3 separate regions of the Homo sapiens genome follow, and all the other regions are linked to region 1. Evidence: promoter capture Hi-C in 16 types of primary human blood cells and fetal thymus (Javierre and others, 2016). All regions are on one chromosome and are shown on one strand. Each heading gives the region's core, a stretch centred on a gene start or on the middle of the fragment in contact. The rest is flanking DNA. Distances are from core to core; before and after follow the strand shown. Region 1 holds the start of AK4 (adenylate kinase 4). Region 2 overlaps PDE4B (phosphodiesterase 4B). Region 3 overlaps PDE4B (phosphodiesterase 4B).

Region 1 (2,856 bases), core at 103-2,602:
GAGAAGTACATCGACAGTAAAGGACCCCTGCTGGGAAGAACAACTTTTCATAAAGGAGTTGCTAATTACCAGCATCTCCATCCCAGAAGGGTTAAGAGCCTCGCAGCAGCACAACCGCTACCTCTCGCCTTTTAACGCCAATTCTTTCGGAACTGGTGTGAACGTGGAGTGGGAGGAGAGGGGGAAAGGGACGCACTCAACCCCGTCAGACTAAGAAATCAGGCGATCTATATATCCCCAAGTTCACCACGCCAGCCAAAGGAGGCATCTCATGCCAAGGGAGGCAGCTCAAGAAGCCATTTCCAGGAAAGCTGCATTACAAAATGTAATTTATCAGAACGAGTCTCCTCCGAGTCTCCTGACGGCCAGGCCCGGCGGCTTCGGGAGGGGGGGGAGTTGCTGGGGAGAGTTTACCTTAGAAGGCGACAACGAACAGACAGGCCTTTCAAAGCCACCCAGGGCTCTGCCCCGAGGCCCGAGGCTGCGTGGAGGGGCTGGAGAGGCGCGAGGCTGCGAGCCCCCCGGCGCCACAGGTTCCCCGGCGCGCGGCCCCGCCCGACTGCCACAGGTGGGCGGCGCTCCGCCTCTGGGCTCCCGCGGGAGGGGGCGCGCGGCTCTCTAGGGACTCGGGGGAGGGGGCCAGGGCTAAGGGGTACGGGGACGGCTCTGCCTTAAGGAGGGCAGCGTGAGACGGAAGCTCCGGGTTTTCCCTGCCTAGTTCTCGTTCCCTCGGCCGGGTGGCTCGGGCTATTCCTCGCGACAGGAGGAGCGGTGGAGAGGAGCCGTGGGCACCTCCCACCGGCCGCCCCTGGAGCCTCGGCCTCCTCCCCAGGCGCGGTTAAGCCGCGCGGCCGCCAGCTGCATGCGCCCCGGCACGTACGAGCCTGCACGACCACACGCGGGCGGGGGAAGGGCGCCGTGATCCGGGAGCCCCAGTCCCTCCAGGGCCTCACCCCAGCCCAACGCGGCTCGCCCCCGGCCCTCGTCCCCGCAGCCCCTCACCGGTGCTGGCCTTGATGTTCTCCCGCAAGAAGTGGCCGCTGGAGAGATGCTGGAGACCAAAGTTCTGGGCGATCCTCTGGCACACGGTGCCCTTGCCCGAGCCGGGCGGCCCGAGGATGACCGCGCGCAGGAGTTTGGAAGCCATTGCCTTCGCGAGGAGGGGGGCGGTCAAACGCGCAGCCCCGACCGCGGCCCCGGAGGAAGCCCCGGGAACTTTGTTTCTCGGCCCCCTACCTCTGGCACCCTCCGCTCTCACTGGGACTCGCCGGCCGCCCCTACAGGGGGAAGGAGAGACTTTTAAGACAACCCCTCCCCTCAGCCCAGCGCCGGGACCGAGTAGCAGGCGGACTGAGCGCCACGCTACACCTCCCCGCCCTTCTCCACCTCCTCGCCCTCCTCCACCTCCTCGCCCCCACGCAAAGCTGCTGAAGCGCGCCGTGCCCCGCCCTGCCGACTCGGCCTCCAGGGGTCAGAGGTCGGCCCGGCCAGTCCCACCTTCATCCTTAACTCCAGCTCGCTCCCCACGCCGCGTCCGAGAAGGGGGCCGGGCGGCCAGGCATCCCCAAGCCAGTCTCCGCCGAGCCGGGGAAGCTGGCACAAGCGGGGGTGACTCAAAGCCAGCCCCCGCCGCCCCACGCACCGGGCGGCCTAGGGGCTGAGCCCCTGCCCGGTCCTCGCACGTGGGCAACGTGTGGTCTGCGTCTCGTCCCCTCCCCGGCGGCTGTCACATCCCCCGGAGTCTCAGCTGCCGCCGCTGCCCGCCGCCCGCGCGCGCTCGGAGGGGCCCACCTCCGCCCGGGGTTGGCGGATGCGCTCCCCGGCCATGGGGCGCGCGACGAGCCCGAGCCCCGCGCCTCGCCACCAAAAGCAATCAAATAAACACACACCTTGGCTGGAGGCAGCACTCCGAGAGGCTTCCAGCCCGGATCCTGCAGGGCGGCGCCGCCTCCGCCCGCCCAGTCGCGGAGCCCCGGCCGGCCGCGCGGGACTCGCGCCTTACGTAAGCCCGGGAGACCGGCTCCGCGCGAGCCGCTGGCCGCCGCCCCCTCCCCTCCACTCCACTCCACTCCCACCCAGCCTGCCTGGCCCACGTGCTCCCTGCGACCCAGCGAGGGCTGCGGGGGCGAAGCGAGGTGCAGACCACGCGAGGTAGAGAAACCCCTTTTTTTCTTTCGCGGTCGCCTGGGGACCGCGGTCTACTGCAAGGGAAGGGAAAAATACAACTTGTTGAGCGCCTACTGTGCGCCAAGTTTGCGGCTAGGTGATTTCATTGTGTTTACAGCCGAGGAATGGAGCGTGACCATTCATTCATTGATTCATTCTGCAAATGTTTATTGAGTGCCTACTGTGTGCCAGAAACTATTCTAGGCGCTTAGGATCTAGCCGTGAACAACAGATCGAATCCTGCTCTCAAGAAATTGCGTCCTAGCGGGAGGCTGGAACCCAAGACTGACTGACTCCAAAGTCTAGGCGCCTTAGGGAACAGGGAAGAAGGGGATGTCCCTCACCTGTGTTCAGGACCTTCTTGGTAAATGATTCCAGGACTTCCATGCGCATTATGCTGGTGCTGCACCTATAACTCACCAAGTCCAAATGGAGTCTGTCTTCCCCCACTCCACCCTCCCCTGCATATCCCAATCCACATTCTGTTAGATCTGTGCCCACCTTACACACAGCCTTTAATTTCCCACCCCAACTAGTGGGATAAGTGCCCATAAGACTCCAGTTTCTGTGCCATTCCATTTTCCGTGCAGCTGCCAGGAATACTGATAAAGTGAAAATCAATATTTATTATTTCCCGGCCTCAGATATTGTCTTCCCTTCAGGATAAAGTGAAAAATCTTCAGCAGGGGC
Region 2 (2,730 bases), core at 4-2,503, 1.2 Mb before region 1:
ATTATACTTTCTTTTCATAACCCTTACGTATTGGTCATGATTCTCTTTAAGAAGTTAATTCCATTTTCAGTCTATAGTACCTCTTAGGTTGTTTTAAATCCTGCCTTATTGAAGTTTCTAATATTTTTTGCAGCTACAAAAATCTATCATAGCTTGTTTTTGAGATTATTACTCTACCCCTTAAAAATACCATGTAGAATACATTGTATTTATTATTAATTGTATTGATTTCAGCTAGTGACTTTCATACATCCCTTGAGGTAAAAGACAATGGAATGCTTCAAAACCTGCCTTGGGAATTGCCACTTCTAGATTAGCGATTTCTCAGGGCTGGGACAGCCTATTAATCTGGCAATTTTCAAGATCAACTCTAGGGCCTATCAAAAAAATAAAAGAAAGCTTTGGACTACATAGATCTATCCTTTCCTTCCCTGAAAGCATATATATTATTATCTGTTTTGATATTTCAGTAATCCCTAAGCTAGAGTATGCACCGGCAAATTGAGGAAAATTTGTAACAGGTTGGAGGTTTGCACACATAAACTATTAACTAAAACTATAAAAGATGAAAATAGTTTCATAACATAAAATAGACATAAATTTCATAGACAGCTATTTCTTATGCAATTTTATCCTATTAAAAAAGGTAGTTGGGCTTGTTATGTATTTTGTGTTTTCCATTATTAGCTATCATAATTTAGAAGAGATGGAGAGATGCTTTGAACAACAATGCACCTCAAGATGCATAGGTTTGTTAGGTTCACGGAAGGTTTATAGAGGCAGCTTCTACTGCAAACATGAAGTAGAGGGAGTGCTGGTTGCAGGTTTGCCTTACCAGTGACCTCAGCTAACCCAACGTCATAACAGCATGATATAGGAGCATCTGAGGATTCAACTGAGTCCGGAAATAAAATATGACATAGGAGCATCTGAGAATTCAACTGAGTCTGGAAATAAAATATGTACTGTAACTTAGTCTGAGAAACTTAGCAAGTCATTGAGTCTCTTAGAGACTAGAATTTTCTATCTTTGAAATGGGAAGATTAGGAATAACATATGTGAAGTGGCTGCCAAGGTGTCTGAGACCAAGTGTGTGCTCTTTCTTCCACAGGATTTGTACTTGAAGCTAGGTTTTATCTGTAAATTTCAAAATAATCTGAGCTCATGGTACCTTTCTCACTTTGGCTTTGCTTTTGGGTGGAAGTTTCAGTTGGTTCTTTGATACTTGAACACCTTCTTTTCATTGTTGACAGCAGCATATATAATTAATTACAGAATTCCCATAGCATGCTGCTGCAGGTGTGATGCACTACTATGTCACATAGATTATGTGACACATGAGTTACTCATAGAAGTTCAGACTCTCTGGTTGACATTTAGATTATTCACCAGTCTAAGGAGCGTAAACAAGAATTGCCAGAAAGATAGATGAAGCAAGTCAAATGAAAAGCACCATAACTCAAAATGGTCTTATGCTTAAGTTAAACCGTAAAAAAAGAGTCTATTTGGAGAAATCCAGCTGTTGGTAACTATCCATTCATGCTTCTTTGGTTTAGCCAATTTTCTCAAATTAAGACACTTTACAACTTTTTATCTATTGACTAAAAGCTGTGACTGACCACAGACTACCTGACATGAGGATAACTGCACCAAGTATGCATTTTGCTCAGATTTTCACAGTTAAGATCAATGTGGTAACACATATGAATTAATTGAATATGTGGCTCAGGTGAGAGGAGTGTCACCAATATGCCAGGAATGAAAAACATAACCAAATGATGGCAGATAATTAGGCTGCTATTCTCCAACAGATATGGAGAGTGGCTGAATTACAAACACATGTGCTCATAAATAGGCTCCCCAGAGAGTGTGGAATAGCCATTGCTAGTCTCCAAAGGGCTTAGATTCTTGTCCACAGGATGCAGACTTTTTGAGAGAATAGTAAGCCAAATATTGCAAAACTGAACCAAAAGCCAACCGAACAAACAAAAACCCCAACCAAAACCATGCTTCACATTTCTGCTCACAGGAAGAAAGCACTGGTCCCTGACAACTTTGTTCTTTGTTATCTGACTCTGGATGAAAGAGAAGGGTAGGAATAAGCTTTCCCTTTTTTCAGGGTACTTTGGGGGTCATTGGGAACCAGATGAGGGTTTCTCATGCAACCTAACAATTAGAAAGCTGGAATTAGGCATGGCAGGCCCCTACATGTAGCCATTGCCGCACAACAGGAAACAGGATTCCAGGGTTCTAATGGATTTATCACTAACAAATACTTGGTCTTGGACAAATTAGATTAAGTTTCTGAACCTCATGCAATTGATCAAAAAATATTTATTCTAATGCCTACCATGTGTCTACAGCTAGTGTAACTGCTGGGGCTTCACTAGTGAACATGGTAGACACAATTCATGTCTTCAGTAACTTTACAGTCTAATGAAAGATATCAGTAAAAACCAAGTTCCATGATCAAAACCAAAAACCATAAATTGTGATAGTAAATTGCAAAACCAACAAGCAGCTGAATTAGGGTAATAAAAGAAGGTCTTTCTAAGAGGTGATATCTAAACTGAGGTCTGAAAAACAAGACTTCGCTGATTTCTAGCTTTAAAATTCTGTGATGATATGTTTTGTTAACAAGTTATACGAGAATATAATAAATTGTGGATTTCCCTTTAACTTTTATTTTTAACTCAACTTTTGAGCAAAGAGAACAACTTTGCTCAACTT
Region 3 (3,021 bases), core at 410-2,909, 1.2 Mb before region 1:
ACAGTGGTTGGCTTTCTTTGTGGGGAATGGCACAAGAGAAGAGAAAGATCTGCTTTTCATATGTCAGAACTAATTGTGAAATAAGTGGGCCTACAGACTAATCTAATCATGCTTTTCTTTATTCACCTCATATAAAAGTCTCTTTAGAATGCATTTGAACACAATATATAATAATAATACTATAACATACATTGTGAGAAACATTTGAAAATGATAAAATGTCCACCTGAAACAATGCAGTGTTCATAGACATACATTGGTCATGCACATTTGTGCCATTTTCTGTAATTACTGAGTCACAATGCTGAACTGAAAGCATGAAACATATTTTACAAACTGAAACTGACATCAGTAAGAGGCCTAACAAGTGTTATCAGAAGAGGCTTCACATTTGCGTAATTTGCTACATCAGTTCACATTTTATTATAAAAATTCACATTGTTTTATTGTTTTCTTTTGTAATGAACTGGAACATGACATTCCTGCTTAATGGCAGGCAGGAGGCTACCTCTTCAAAGTCAGTAGTTCGGGAGCATTCAGAAGAATCATCTGTGAGCAAATGTAGTGTTTCCTTTTGAACCAAAGCCACAATGATAGTAGGATCCAGTTATAACCCAACTCATGCCCACATAGATTTGGATAGAACCTGGGTAAAAACTACATCCCATTGCCCCCTGCCCCTATCAAGCTATACAAAAGTAAAAGCTCAGTATAAACCATTTAGTATCTAATGTGAGAATATTGTTTCCAAAACTGGTTCATAAAGGGGTTGTGCAGAAGTAGCAACTCAGGCAGGGAAAGGGCAGACCCTTTGAACAAAAGCCCACCCCTGTCCTCTCTGCCAAGGGGGCCATATGTCTCTACTAAGTGACGTTTGGGTTATATAATACACAATACAAAACATTACAAGAAAAAGTCGTAACTCTTAGGCAGAGTTTTCTACACAAATTTAACACCACCATTGGCAGGCAATGTTAGATATATAAATTAATAACTTACAAAACATTACATTATATACATTAAGTAATAAATACACGGTTATAAACAGGAATGGAGGTGTTAGCGCAGAAGGCAGTGCAAGAGAAGGACGGCAGCATTACATTGAAAACAGCCTAACGGGGTGAAGAGAGGAGGTAGGGAACAGGGCCAGGGACTGTACAACTCCTGTGGGGGGCAGGGTCCAAGACACAGCAGGGCACACTGCTGAGTTCTATGCAGACTCTCACGGTGAACGACACCACTGCTCCTTTCTACCCCCTAATTTGTTCAATTTTATTCTGTTTACAGCAAAAAGTTAAAAGTACTGTTGGAGGCAGGCAAACAGAGAGAAGTTTTAAGAGTGACTGTGGAGTTGGACTGGACAACAGGGGAAGGAAGTAAAATGTGGTTAGAAGTGTATCCTTTCTGTCTGTTTGCAAAAGTAACTGTAGTAAAGTGAAGGATATTGCCCAAGAAAGAAGGAAGACTATTTTCTTTCCCTTTTCCAGAAAGAGTCAAAAAAGTTTGTCAACTTTGAAAGCTTATCTGTGTAGAAGTTGATACTAAACTCCAGGTATTCAACAGGCATTTTAAAGACATGAAAATGTTTTACAAAAAAGGCACACAGGTTGGCAGACAAAGGGACAAGTGAGAAGATTCATAAATGAAGTTATTAGTCAGTGAGTTCAGTCACTGTCGGGGATAAGTTCCCGAAACTTAGTGCAGAATGATCTCTCAGTTTTGTGTCTTCCATTTTCAAGCCATGTGTCTTGATCAGAATCGGCCCCCAGCAACAGCTTCAGCCCTCTCCACCAAGCTTGCCATCAAGGCAAGTCAACCGTGGGATTTCCTGAGCTGCTATTTGCTTCCTGGTCTTGCTTTCTGACTCCAAACTCAAGTAACTGAAAGGCCAGGTGGCCCTTGTCCTGTGCAGGTCTTGGCCCCCATGGTGGGCTGGCCCTACCACATAGCTGGCATGCTCATCAAGGATAGAATGTTCATCTCCACAGGGAGAGGGGGATTATGTATCCACGGGGGACTTGTCTTCTGTTGCAATGTCTATGTCAGTCTCTCCCAGGGAATCTCTGTTTTCTGGATCAATCACACAAAGCGTCTTTGTGCTGCTGAAATAGCTGTGTCCCTCTCCCTCCTTCTCAGGTCCTTCAGAATCTTCCTCATCGAGAGTCAGTTCAAACTGAAACTTCTCCATCAGACCCTGGCAGTCCCTGTTCTGCTCGTCCAGTGGTGGTGAGGGACTTTGAGGTATCATGCTCTGATACCAGTTCCTGTTATCTTCTAAGGTATCGAGAATGTCCTGAGCATCAGGCTGTACCAAATCTGCCCATGTCTCCCACAATGGATGGACAATGTAGTCGATGAAACCAACCTGGAGAAAAATAAGATGACACATCTGTTATTGTGATGGTGCTTGAAAAGTAAACAAGGTTTCCTGGTTTCCATGCAAAGAAAGAACATTAATAACTTCAGAAAGATCAATCATAATGGATTCCATGATTTGGGCACTCACAATACAGTGGGTCTTACACTGAATGCAATCGATGTATTCTCTCTTAATCCTGGAAGGTAAGTATTGCTGTTTACTATTTACAAAGGCAGAAACTACGACTTATTGAGATTAAATATCTTGTCAGAGGTCACATAACTAGTGACTGGTGGAGCTGGGACTCAGTCCCAGCTTCATCTGATTCCAAAGCCCGTGTTCATCTTGCTACAACAGACTGCATTTCCTTTTATGTGCGCCAGATAAGAAGTCTGGATGGAATCCTCATGATTTCCAGGGACCCAAAGACAAAGAATGACTTTGCCACTACTTGGATTCTGTGAGTCATTTTCTGAAGAAGGCAGGCCCAGGTCTAACGTGTTTTGACTCAATATTTTTTCCTTGTTAACTTTAAAATATGTTGCTATTCCAAAGTGATGAGGAGCTGGCTCCTGACTACTCTGGAATTTCTCAAGTTCTGTGGAATGCTTTTGGCTGGTAGAGGAGTTTGATGAAACACGTGAAAATACTTTGAGCCCTGA

The links. The method cuts DNA at HindIII sites, captures the fragments that hold promoters and counts their contacts. A CHiCAGO score of 5 or more calls a contact.
Region 2: a contact is called between a fragment that was not itself captured here and the fragment with the promoter of AK4 in region 1, in 1 of 17 cell types (M0 macrophages). The highest score is 5.3, in M0 macrophages.
Region 3: a fragment that was not itself captured here is called in contact with the fragment with the promoter of AK4 in region 1 in 1 of 17 cell types (M0 macrophages); the score reaches 5.4 in M0 macrophages.

Annotation. Positions count from the first base shown.
Region 1 is chr1:65,146,699-65,149,554 of GRCh38, reverse strand. It overlaps AK4 (adenylate kinase 4), which reads right to left and starts at 1,352. Exons shown (of 5, transcript NM_013410.4): 1 at 1,003-1,352. The coding sequence starts at 1,147. RefSeq lists enhancers at 1-103, 104-822 and silencers at 416-695, 756-1,055, 1,436-1,935, 1,946-2,185. The HindIII fragment of the contact is 4,960 bases long and covers 1-2,856 here.
Region 2 is chr1:66,345,212-66,347,941 of GRCh38, reverse strand. All of the region lies in intron 8 of PDE4B (phosphodiesterase 4B), which reads right to left. Among named protein-coding and RNA genes, the nearest start is that of SGIP1, 190 kb to the left of the region's middle. The HindIII fragment of the contact is 1,704 bases long and covers 402-2,105 here.
Region 3 is chr1:66,371,657-66,374,677 of GRCh38, reverse strand. PDE4B (phosphodiesterase 4B) reads right to left here. Exons shown (of 17, transcript NM_002600.4): 17 at 104-2,365. The coding sequence ends at 2,000. Among named protein-coding and RNA genes, the nearest start is that of SGIP1, 160 kb to the left of the region's middle. RefSeq lists enhancers at 222-401, 1,348-1,397, 1,768-1,857. The HindIII fragment of the contact is 276 bases long and covers 1,522-1,797 here.